2 separate regions of the Homo sapiens genome follow, and region 1 is linked to region 2. The links are contacts of gene promoters, found by promoter capture Hi-C in blood cells and fetal thymus (Javierre and others, 2016). All regions are on one chromosome and are shown on one strand. The core of a region is centred on a gene start or on the middle of the fragment in contact, and the rest is flanking DNA. Distances in the headings are between cores, read along the strand shown. Region 1 holds the start of ZNF155 (zinc finger protein 155). Region 2 holds the start of ZNF180 (zinc finger protein 180).

Region 1 (6,067 bases), core at 2,749-5,248, 520 kb after region 2:
TATAGAGAGAATATAAGTTAGTGGTTGCTCCAGATTTGAGGTGAGAATGAGTTTTTATTTTTTAAGAGATGGGGTCTTGCTATGTTGTCCAAGCTGGTCTCAAACTCCTGAGCTCAAGCTATACCTCCCACCTTGGCCTCCCAAAGTGCTGAGATTACAGGCATGAGCCACTGTGCCCGGCCTGAAAATGAGTTTTAACTGTAAGTGGGCACAAGAAGTCCAGTTAGGGGATGAAAATGGTCTAAACTGAATCATGATGATGGCAAAACCACTATGTGAAATTCCTGAAGATCACTGAATTGTACACCTGAAATTGGTGAATGCTATGATACGTAAAAAATACCTCAATAGAATTGGGAAAAATAATTGTTAGTTTACATGTCATTTAACTTAACAAGACTGAGTCCATACTGATAGAATATTTATAGTTGAAGAAACTAATAAATAAATGGGGGAGAACTGGCAGTTCATTTTTAGAGTGAATGCCCATTAATAATGTATCTCCCCAGAAGAAACTTGACTATTTCTTTTAAAAAGGTAATTTGATAGTGGACAAATCTGAAAGACATCATCTTGGCCAAATGAATGAAGTTGAGATCACCAATGAAGGGCCAAACCAACATCGTTTGGCCCTGTTATGTTACAATAGGAAGGAAACCTTATCACTTTGGCAGTATCCGCACCAACAATGCATAAGGCCCAGAAGCAATAACAATGCATGATCTGAACCTAAACATGAGATATATCAGATAAATCCCAATGAACGTCTTTCTCCAAAATAACTTGCCTACACTCTTTAAAAATACCACATATATTAAAGAAAAAGGCTGTGAAATCCTTCCAGATTAAAGAAGACAGAAATGTGACGAGTAAACACAATGCATATAATTAGACTTTAAACTGGGGTCAGGGTAAAGGGTAGGGTAGAAGATAGTTGTGAGGACTATAAATGAAAAAATTGAACAAATTTAATTATGGAACCACATATGAGATAACATGATGTTATGGAATATGCTATCTAGCACTATCTAATTATAACACTATAAGCACAATTAGTAGTTTTTTAAACAGATATCTAATATTTAATAAATATCATTTAATATGATATCTTAATATTGTCTAGCATGTTACGTGAGACCCTATAACCTGCCCTTTCTAAACACCTCTTACCAAGTCACCCCATGATCACCATGGAATGTGGGCTTCCTTGCTGCAGAAATCTACAATCGTCTCTGGTTACAGATATGTTCCTGGTAGTATTTGGCTGATGGCCACCAACAAAGCAAACAGGAAAAATGTAAACAATCGGCAAATTTGGGTAAAGAGTATATGAGAATTCCTTATACTATTTTTGCAACTCTTCTACAGCTTTGAAATGATATAAAAATGAAAGGTTTTCAACTATCAGGAAATAGTCATAAGGATGATAACAATGGGGGCTGGGCGCCGTGGCTCACACCTGTAATCTCAGCACTTTGGGAGGCCGAGGTGGGCGGATCACAAGGTCAGGAGATCGAGACCATCCTGGCTAACACAGTGAAACCTCGTCTCTACTAAATATACAAAAAAATAGCCGGGCATGGTGGCCGGCACCTGTAGTCCCAGCTACTCAGGAGGCTGGGGCAGGAGAATGGTGTGAACCCGGGAGGCGGAGCTCACAGTGAGCCGAGATCGCACCACTGCACTCCAGCCTAGGTGACAGAGCGAGACTCCGTCTAAAAAAAAAAAAAAAAAAACACAAATGGGAATAATATTGGATGAGCATGACATAATATGGCAGTTTACTAGTTTATTCTCTATTAGCAGTATTTAAAAATTTCCATAGTTAAAGAAATATGGGAAAACACATTAAGATATTATAACAATTTTTTTAAATGCTTATAAATAAATATACAATAGACACAGAGAAAGACTAAAAAGAAACGGAGGAGAACTGGAAGTTCCATCTCTTGTATCAGACAGTTAGCACCTTCACATCTTGGATTCATGGGTAATTTAAAACATGTTTTCTCCTCCTATTAATCTAATTTTAAAATGCTCCACAATGATATGGTTCCACAATACAAAATCCTTATAAAAAGTGAAACAGGATGTTGACAAATTTTTAAAAGACTCCTACAGAAGTCCAAGTCTATGAGCCTTGCTCTCAAGGTCCCTTCAATCAAGTCCTAACTCTCTTTCCCCACCTGATTCCAGCTAGTTCCTCTACCTCAATGAAAATGTATCCAAGGGATGATCAACTCAGGCTCTGACCCAAACTGCCTAGGTTCCAGCTCCAGCTGTACCTCATTCTACTGGGAACTAAGCACCAGGTGTCTCACTCCCATATTTAAAATGGAAAAGAGCGACCGGGCGCGGTGGCTCACGCCTGTAATCCCAGCATTTTCGGAGGCCAAGGCGGTCGGATCACGAGGTCAGGAGTTTCAGACCAGCCTGACCAAAACGGTGAAACCCCATCTTTACTAAAAATACAAAAATTAGCTGGGCGTGGTGGTGCGCACCTGTAATCCCAGCTACTTAGGAGGCTGAAGCAGGAGAATCGCCTGAACCTGGGAGGCGGCCTATTGCACTGAGCCCAGATCGCGCCACTGCACTCTAGCCTGGGCGACAGAGCGAGACTCCGTCTCAGGAAAAAAAAAAAAAAAAAAAAAAGAAAAAGAGCAATACCTTTCCACAGAGCCATGGTGTGGCGTAAATGTATTTATTTCCATAAAGCCCTTAGAATTAAGTTACCAATTAAGGTTTAATTATTATCAACACCCATGCCCAAGGACACATCCTATACACTCTTGGTTGAGGTGAACATCTCTGTAAAAGAAAAAACCGGCCCGGCGCGGTGGCTCACACCTGTAATTCCAGCACTTTGGGAGGCCGAGGCAGGCGGATCACTTAGGACCACAGGTTCGAGACCAGCCTGGCCAACATGGTGAAACCCCGTCTCTACTAAAAATACAAAAATTAGCCGGGCATGGTGACGCATGCCTGTAATCCCAGCTACTCCGGAGCTGAGGACAGAGAATCGCTTGAACCCAGGAGGCGGAGGTTGCAGTGAGCCAAGATCGCGCCACTGCTGCACTCCAGCCTGGGAGACAGAGCAAACCTCATTCTCAAATAATAACAATAATAAAAACAGACTAACAAAATAAATAACTTTTTTTTAAAAAGAGAAAAGCCAAAGACCACTCGTGTAGACAGCTTTGTCCTCAGTAGCCAAGTCCCTCCCTGCAGCTCTTTTAGAAAAGTCAGGCTGGGGAAGGAGAAAGCTGTCAAACACTCTGCGTCGCCGTCCCGGATACAAGTTAAATGCTCCTCTCCCTTCGTGAAACGTGGATGCAACCCACGCCTTCCTAAAAAGAGGTCAGAGGCGTCCGGGATCATCCAGAGCCCTGCCGGGCTCCAAGAGAAGGGCCGGAGCAGCTGGAGCTCTGACCCCACCCGGGCACCTGACCACTTCGCGGGAAATTAACAGGACACCAAGTGACAGGAGCTGTTAAGTCTTTGTTTTATACCACAACTTTCAACTCCTAAAACAATTCTATCAGGATGGTCCTGAAATCCTCATTTAAAAAACGGCAATGGGAGGTACAGGGAGATTAAGTAACACCCCACGTTATATCGCGAGAAAGAGGTCGCACACTTAAGAGTGGAGGGAGGCGGACTGAACGAGGTCAAACACCTGGAAAACCCTCTAAACAGGCACACAAGACTAGACAGAGTTCTTCCCCGCCCCCCCCGAACCCCCGACGACTCCTCCGGTGGACCTGAGTACAGCCCCCAACGCCAGAAGGCTCCATCGACGGCAACGAAACTTCCCTCCCACCCCTCGCATCTCCAAACCTCAGGTCTTCTCCAGGGCTTCTTACCCCCTTAGTTGACCCCCCAGGTCGTTAGGCGCCCCTAATAACTGGTTCACTTTCGCAAAGACCCGCAAGACACATACTTGGCTCAAACCACCTTGTTAAGTAGCAGTGTCCTGCTCGGAGACCGGAAGTGTCGATGATGCCACAGGCGTCTGGACTACACTTCCCAGAATCCCCCGAATCCGCCTGCCTGAGCCAAAGTTCCCACGACTCCACAGAGCAAATGGACTCCACTTCCCAGAATTCACAGGTCCTCCTGCCTGGGCCAAAATTCCCACGCCTCCCAAGCTACTCGCGAAACGCCTGCGGGAGCCAAATTTCCTGCGCATCGACCGGGCAATTAGACTCCCGCAGGCGTTTCGCTGGTATCTTGGGAAATGGAGTCCATTTGCTCTGTGGAGGCGTGAGAATTTTGGCTCAGGCAGGTGGACCTGTGAATTCTGGCCTATCAACCTATATTTTTATTTTAAAAAAATGGAGTCTCATGTTCTATATCAATTTTTCTAAACTAAAAAAGAATACTTTTCATGGTTTTCTTTAGATAAAGTGACTGTGCCAACCACAGTATGAGGAACACTTCTCTGAAAATTGAGTGACTGCTATTTCTAAACCAGTTACAGCTGTATCCTTGCTCTGTTCTGCCCTCCCAAGAGATAAAAATTTATTGACACGCTCAATCGTAGTAGGCAGGAAACTGTGCCTAATATATTAGGGTATATCTGGCATCAAAGGCCCTTTCTGTCCCCCAGGTCCTTGCACTCTGGGCCTGTGATGGGAGGAGAAGCTGCCATAATCTGTGAAATGCCTTTGGGGTCATTCTTCCATTGTCTTGGACAATAGGTCCTGGCTTCAGTTGACATGGCCAATCCATACTAAATTCATGAATTAGTTAGTTGCTTAACCATACCCTTGTATTCTTCAGGTTTCCTGTTTTTTTTTTTTTCCAAAGTAGATAGGCTGTAAACTTTTAAAAATTTTAGTTCTGTTTCCCTTTTAATTAATAATTATTTCAGTCATTCCTCACTTCGTGCCTTTCACTACGGGTAGTCAAGATGATTCAAGCAACTTCAACACTTTGATTAGAAATTAATTCAGATAAACAATTATATCATTCACAAATTCTACCTTCCATAAAACACTAGCACCTGAATATAATTCAGCCAAATTCTTTGTCCCTTTATAACAAGAAGCTCTCTTCTCTTCCAATAACATGTTCAACATTTCTGACTGAGGTCTTCAGAATGGCCTTTACTGTCCATATTTCTACCAACATTCTGATCATGACTACCTAGGTATGCTCTAACAAGATTGATGTTTTCTCTACAGTTCTTATTCTCTATTTCTGAGCGCTAACCAGAATTGTCCTTATCAGTCCATTCATGGCAATGTAGGCTTTTCCTAGCATACATGTAAAAACTCTTCTAGACTCTATCCATTACATAGTTCCAAAGACTGCTACATTTTTAGGTATTTGTTGCAGCAGCAAGCCCACCTCTCAGTACCAATATTTTTTAGTCACAAAATATCATAGCCTGCCTGGCTTTTATTTTATTTTATTTTATTTTATTTTATTTTATTTTATTTTATTTTATTTTATTTTTGAGACGGAGTCTTGCTCTGTCGCCCAGGCTAGAGTGCAGTGGCGCGATCTCGGCTCACTGCAAGCTCTGCCTCCCAGGTTCATGCCATTCTTCTGTCTCAGCCTCCCGAGTAGCTGGGACTACAGGTGCTCGCCACCATGCCCGGCTAATTTTTTTGTATTTTTGGTAGAGAAGAGGTTTCACCGTGTTAGCCAGGATGGTCTCGATCTGACCTTGTGATCCGCCCACCTCGGCCTCCCAAAGTGCTGGGATTACAGGCGTGAGCGACCACGCCCGGCCGGCTTTTAAGCAACAGAAATCTATTCTTCACAGATCTGGAAACTGGGATCCAAGATCAAAGCACTGGCAGATTTTGTGTCAGGTAGTTGGCCACTTTCTTGTTCATAGTTAGCACCATATTGCTGTGTCTTCATTTGGTTGAAGTGACAAACAAGCTCCTTCTGGCATTTTTTATAAGGGTATTCATCCCGTGACCTAATCACCCTCCAAAGGCCCCACCTCCTATTACCATCACATTGAGGGTAAAAATTACAATATATGGATTTTGGTGGGCCACAAACATTAAGACCATTGCATACGCATCATGCAGTGTCAGAGTTACTAATT
Region 2 (5,577 bases), core at 1,379-3,878:
TCAGACTCCTGAGTAGCTGGGATTACAGGCGTGCATCACCATGCCTGTCTAATTTTTGTATTTTTTAAGTAGACACAGAGTTTTGCCATGTTGGCCAGACTGGTCTTGAACTCTTGACCTCATGATTGGCCTGCCTTAGCCTCCCAAAGTACTAGGATTACAGGTGTGAGCCACTGCGCCTGGCCTATTTTCTGAATATCTTAAACAATTAGCAGAAAAATAAATGAAGTGAAAAAAGGAAGACGACCTAACACTCAAAGCATCCCATTCTGATTTTGTCATATTTGTATTTGCAGATCAATCTGCAAGATTTTACATCTTTACAACACACAGCTAGCAACACAGCATTTCTATTTGTCCATTTTTCTCTCTCAGTAAGGTTTTGAGGGTTTCTTCAGATGACATATTTATCTTACTAAATTTACTTATAAGGCTTTTTTTTTTTGCTTTTTTGTGAATACATACGAACTTTTTCTGTTTTGTTTGCAAACTTAGTATTGCTTGCACGTAGAGGAAAGATACTGATGTGTAGACAAGCGGCAACATAATGTAAAAGTTAAGAGCATGGACTCTAGAGTTCAACATCTTGGTCTCAAATGCACAACATAGGTGGAAATACAGATGAAACAAGACTGAGTGAAAATATTTAAGTTGGATGACATAGGTCTTGGGGAGTCATTAATTGAGTCCCTACTTTTGTTTTGAAATTTACAAAATAAAAGGTTAAAAAAATAAGCTACTTACTTCAATGTAGAAACCGATGTCACATTTAACCCTCAAACTTCAGAGATATGTCCATTAAAAGAACACAAACAAGAATGCCTCTTTTAGTAATACTTTTTTGGAAATGGTAGCCAATATAATCCAACATGAAAGAGAATGTCTAATTTAAAATACTGGTAAGGAAAAGATGAAATTGTAGATAACTGTCTCAATAGAAAAGCCAAGAGAGTCAACTGGAGTATTGTAAGAATTAATAACATTGCAGTAGGTTAACCAGATACAAAATAAGTATTTTTTAAAAGATCAACCACAATAACCAATAATAAGAAGCTTTGGGGATAGAGATTACATTTCAAATAGTAATAATTCATTGTTTTTAAAGGTCAGAATTTACGTGAAGAAAACTACAGGAGTGCTTTGACAAGCATTTTAAAAACTAAAAAATTATGTATTTTCATACAGCAGGGCTCCAATTTTCAGCTACCTCCCTGGTAGGATGAAAATTAACACAACTACCTCATAGGCTGATTGGGCTTGGTAATGAAATATTAAAGTGTTTAATACAGAGACAGGAACCTTTATTTAGCCAACGAATATTTATTGAGCATCTATTATGTGCCAGGTCTCTCTCTTTTTTTTTTTTTTAGGTGTTGGGGATGCAGCAGTGATCAACATCGATAAAATGCTTTTCCTTATGGAATTGACATCGTAGTGGTAGGTCGGACAGTAGACCAAATAAATAATTAAAATATATAGTGTGCTAGATAGTGAAAAGTTCTTTAGAGAAAAAAATAAAAGATGAAGGGGGAGGCACAGAGCATGTGGGGAGGGAAGCGTTTGCTTGCAAGTTCACAACGGGTGGTGGGGCAATGCCTCATGAGAAGATGATATTCCCCTAATTACCAGACGGTGAGAGCCAAATGAATCCCTCAGGAGAGGCTGCTAGGGAGTGCAAAGAGCACCTGCAAACGACCAGGGGCTGGAGTCTGCTGGATCTGTTGGAGAATGGGGAAAATGTGCCAAGCAAATGGGCAAGAAATGAGGGCAAAGAGAAAAGGGGACTACGCCTGTAATCCCAGCACTTTGGGAGGCCGAGGGCGGATCACCTGAGGTCAGGAGTTGGAGACTAACCTGGCCAACGTGGTGAAACCCCGTCTCTACTAAAAATACAAAAATTAGCCGGGCGTGGTGGCTGGCGCCTGTAATCCCAGCTATTCAGGAGGCTGAGGCAGGAGAATCGCTTGAATCCGGGAGGTGGAGGTTGCAGTGAGCCGAGATCGCGCTATTGCCCTCCAGCCTGGGCGACAAGAGCGAAATTCCGTCTCAAAACAACAAAACAAAACAAAACAAAAACAGAGAAAAGGGGAGAGGTGGGGGGAACAGATCCTTCAGGCCTTATAGGCAGAGAAAGAACTCAAAATTTAAAAATAAAATGATTATATTTTAGTATTATTAAATGTAAAAACATAGATTCCTGAAGGGTTCGGTAGACGCTCCCTCCACTGTAAAATGGGGATGTCGCAACTGTCTCACAGGTTTCCCCTAGGACTAGAGGAGACAAGGGGTCGCGCGCAGCGTCTGACAGGCAGGGGGCACCCAGAAAGGGTCCCCGCCATTTCTATTGGATTCTGACGTCACGCCAGAGCGACTCCCCATGCGTCGCTGCACTGGCCTCGGCCTCCCGGCGCCGCGGCTGGTCTTAGTGCTCCCCCTAGACCTGCACATGCACAGGTGTGGCGCCCCCCCGGGCCCCGGACGAGGACGCCCTCTTAGCTTCTGGCCCGGTCCCCCGCCCCACTTCCTTGGAGAAGCCGGAACCCCGCCTACTGACCGTCCGCGCCGCGGAGGCTTCTGGGAATTGTAGTTCTGGCTCTCCGAGCCCAAGTGCACTTCCGGGTTCGGCCACAAGAGCAGCCATTGTCCCGCGCGCGGACGCTTGCTGTCGCCGAGCAGCTCGGCCCTTCAGACTTAACCCCCAGCGGCCTTGCGGATGCTGACTAGGAGAGGGGACCGAACTAGCTTAACCCGAGTCGGCCGTGTTGCAGAATCGGGGCAGGGGGTTGCCTAACCCGAGTTCGTCCTGCCGCAGAGCCGTGCTAGGCACTGAGGCGGTGACAGGCCCAGCCTGGGCTGCGGGCCAGCGGACGCCCAGGTTGGTAGGGGCGTGGGGCAGCGCTTGGTGTCCGATGCGCGCATGCGCAGGGTCTACGCGGGAAGCTGGAAGCGGTGGTGAGTGTAGCGGGGAGACCTGGTATCTGTGCGGGTGGCGCTTTAGCCTCGGGTCACCGGGGTTGATGGAGTTACTGATACAGCTGTATATTCCGCGACTGTCCTCTGCGTGCATGCGCGGGTGCTTGGTCAGGTGGTGCTCTTGTCTGGGGCCTGAGGATGCCCAGGTTGCTGGAACACAGGGCACATGCATTGATGTAAGGGGACATCTTGAGAACTCCCCTCCTCCAATGCCGGGCTTATTTAGTGGAGGCCTGAGGATGTCCGGGTTGATGGAGTGCTCCATTGCAGATTGTGGTTTCTGGAGAGGAGGGGCTGTGCCACTGTCCCTTTACTCTTGATCAGGTATTTGGGTAGGAAGCAAAAGGTTGTAGGTAAGATTCCGAGCAGGTGGCTCTGGGCCCCTAGAGCAGACAACGCGCTTCTCCAAGGTCTGGGGGCGCTGTGGTTGGTGGAGAGACCAGATTGGAGTTGCAGATTCTTGTGCCAGAAGAGGCAGTGTTGCTAGTGAACCCTTGGTGGGAATTACCCATGGGCAGCAAACTCCCAGGCTGAAGGAGGGTATCAGGGCCTAGAAACAGGTTCTGGGCAGAGGGCCCCCTGCACGTCCTGGGGGTGTCTGAATGGAAAACAGAAACTTGAACTGATAGTAGGGACCTATGTAGGATAGTGCAGAGCTCTAGAGCATTCAAGATGGGCAGAGACTCCGGGTTGGAGATACAGAATTTAAGTCCAGGAAGGACAGAGCTGCAACAGCTGCCATCAAATTGGTAGCTGGGGAGGAAGCAGTATGTTGCCAGCATCGTTATGAAGCAGGTGTTGCTGAGACCTTTACTTGGGTACGCTATTTGCAGGCGTGAGAATGTGCAGGTTAGTAGAGGGACAGAGCCTGTGCTGCAGATTTGGTCCCGGGAAGAGCTGACTGCACAACACCCAGGCCGTCATGATTGGGCAAGAGAAGGACAAAGGGCCCAGTTCCCATTGAGCTGCTGTATCGTAGGCTCGAGAACCCCCACGCTGGCGAGTGCCCAAGTCCTGGGGCTGATTATGGAGCTGTATGCTCAAGCTACTGTTTAGTTGTTGTAGTGTCCTGGCTGCGGGCAAATAGTGGGGCAGTTGACCCCAGAACCTACACAGAGGCTGTGGGTACCTGAGATGTCCCAGGCAGGTTGAGACACAGGGTGAGGGATGTAGATTGTTGACTCAGGAGCATGGTGTGCCCCCAGACGGGCAGAGGAGCCAGGTCCTGGATGCAGATTGTGAGCACGAACCTGCTCTGTGGCTGTATCAGTAGGAGGGAGTCTAGGTGGGTGGCCCGTGTGCAGTGGCTGTGGAATAGAGGCCTGGGGGCTCCAGTTTGGATCTGGTCTTAGGAGGCACGGGGCTGCTCCAGCAACACTCTGCACGTGTGCTGGCATTTGGGCAGATTGGGGAGGCATGGGCAGTCCTAGGACCCTGATTCTGCCTGAGGATGCCCAGGTGTGTGGGGGGGAGCAGCTGCAGAGGGGCGGGACTGTGTCAGGCACCCCTTGTGCACACACACCGGTGTTTGGTTGGGAAACAGGAGGCCGGAGATGAGTTTTAGACAGAGGGTGCTGGGGTCTTTGTGTGATTGGAACCCTGATCACAGCCTGATGGTGCCCAGTTTGGTGGAAAGACAGGATCTTCCTGAGCCACAGGTGCCCCCGAAAGATGTTTGGTCAGAATCTGGGCAGGTGTGGCTCAAGCAGGGGGCTGTGGAGTAAGGTGGAGGAAACAGTTTGGGTGCAATTTCAGGAAACAGCTGCATTGTGAACCTACGCTATGCTGCGTGAGAATATGGTGGGAGCAGGGGAGAGAGTAAGTGGGAGAGATGGAGTGCAGAGGGTGGGGTGCCTAGGGTAGGATTTGCCCTCTAGTCTTGGATCCCAAAACACCTAGTTGGTACAGAGGCACCTGAGCTTCTGAGACATGTATTTAGAGCCTGGGTAGGGCTGCTTTTGTCTGGCTTGTGCTGGTGTCTGTTGGAGGCCCCCAGCCCTATGCAGGCCTTGTTGTAGTTTCAGGCCTGAGTATACCCAAGTTGGTGGAGGGACTGGTTTAGAGCTACAAATTCAGGGCCTGGGAGGGTGTTAGGGTGGGAATCTGGCTGGTGCTGTTCGAGTAGGAGCCAGTGGACCCCAGAAGTGTGGAGGGAACAGGATGTGGGTATAGCTGAGCTCTGTGCATAAATGCTTGGCTATTTGAGCAGGATGTGGGTGGCCCTCTGTGCTGAGTTGCTGGAGGGACAGGTCTGGCTGATGGAACGGTAGGATCAGTCTTAGTTGTTGAATCAGTTCCTGGGAGCAGTGGAGCTGTGTCACCAGCTTCATGCAGTTAGGCAGTGAGTGTGATTCTGGCCCTAGGAAGAAGTGCTGGTTTGGGGCTGTAGATTGAGGTTGGTAGGGGTAGGATGGGGTGAACACCAGGGGGTCCTCAATATGCCTGATATTTGTGGGGATCCCAGGGCCCAGTGAATAGGAGAGGGATGGACTGGTGCTGCAGACTTTGGTGGTGGGCAGAAGGCCATGTTGGGCACAAGCTGGGCTTACAGGTAGATGGTCCAGGGGCCCAAGATGGTGGAGGAACCAGGTTGGAGCTGCAGAA

Evidence for each region. The method cuts DNA at HindIII sites, captures the fragments that hold promoters and counts their contacts. A CHiCAGO score of 5 or more calls a contact.
Region 1: a contact is called between the fragment with the promoter of ZNF155 here and the fragment with the promoter of ZNF180 in region 2, in 13 of 17 cell types (total CD8 T cells, total B cells, neutrophils and 10 more). The highest score is 13.2, in total CD8 T cells.

What each region holds. Positions count from the first base shown.
Region 1 is chr19:43,982,119-43,988,185 of GRCh38, reverse strand. It overlaps ZNF155 (zinc finger protein 155), which reads right to left and starts at 3,998. Exons shown (of 5, transcript NM_198089.3): 1 at 3,941-3,998. RefSeq lists a silencer at 4,102-4,301. The HindIII fragment of the contact is 8,717 bases long and covers 1-6,067 here.
Region 2 is chr19:44,497,573-44,503,149 of GRCh38, reverse strand. ZNF180 (zinc finger protein 180) reads left to right here and starts at 2,628. Exons shown (of 5, transcript NM_001278509.3): 1 at 2,628-2,875. RefSeq lists enhancers at 2,173-2,222, 2,399-2,693, 2,533-2,742, 2,753-2,812, 2,359-2,859 and 2 more. The HindIII fragment of the contact is 10,008 bases long and covers 1,056-5,577 here.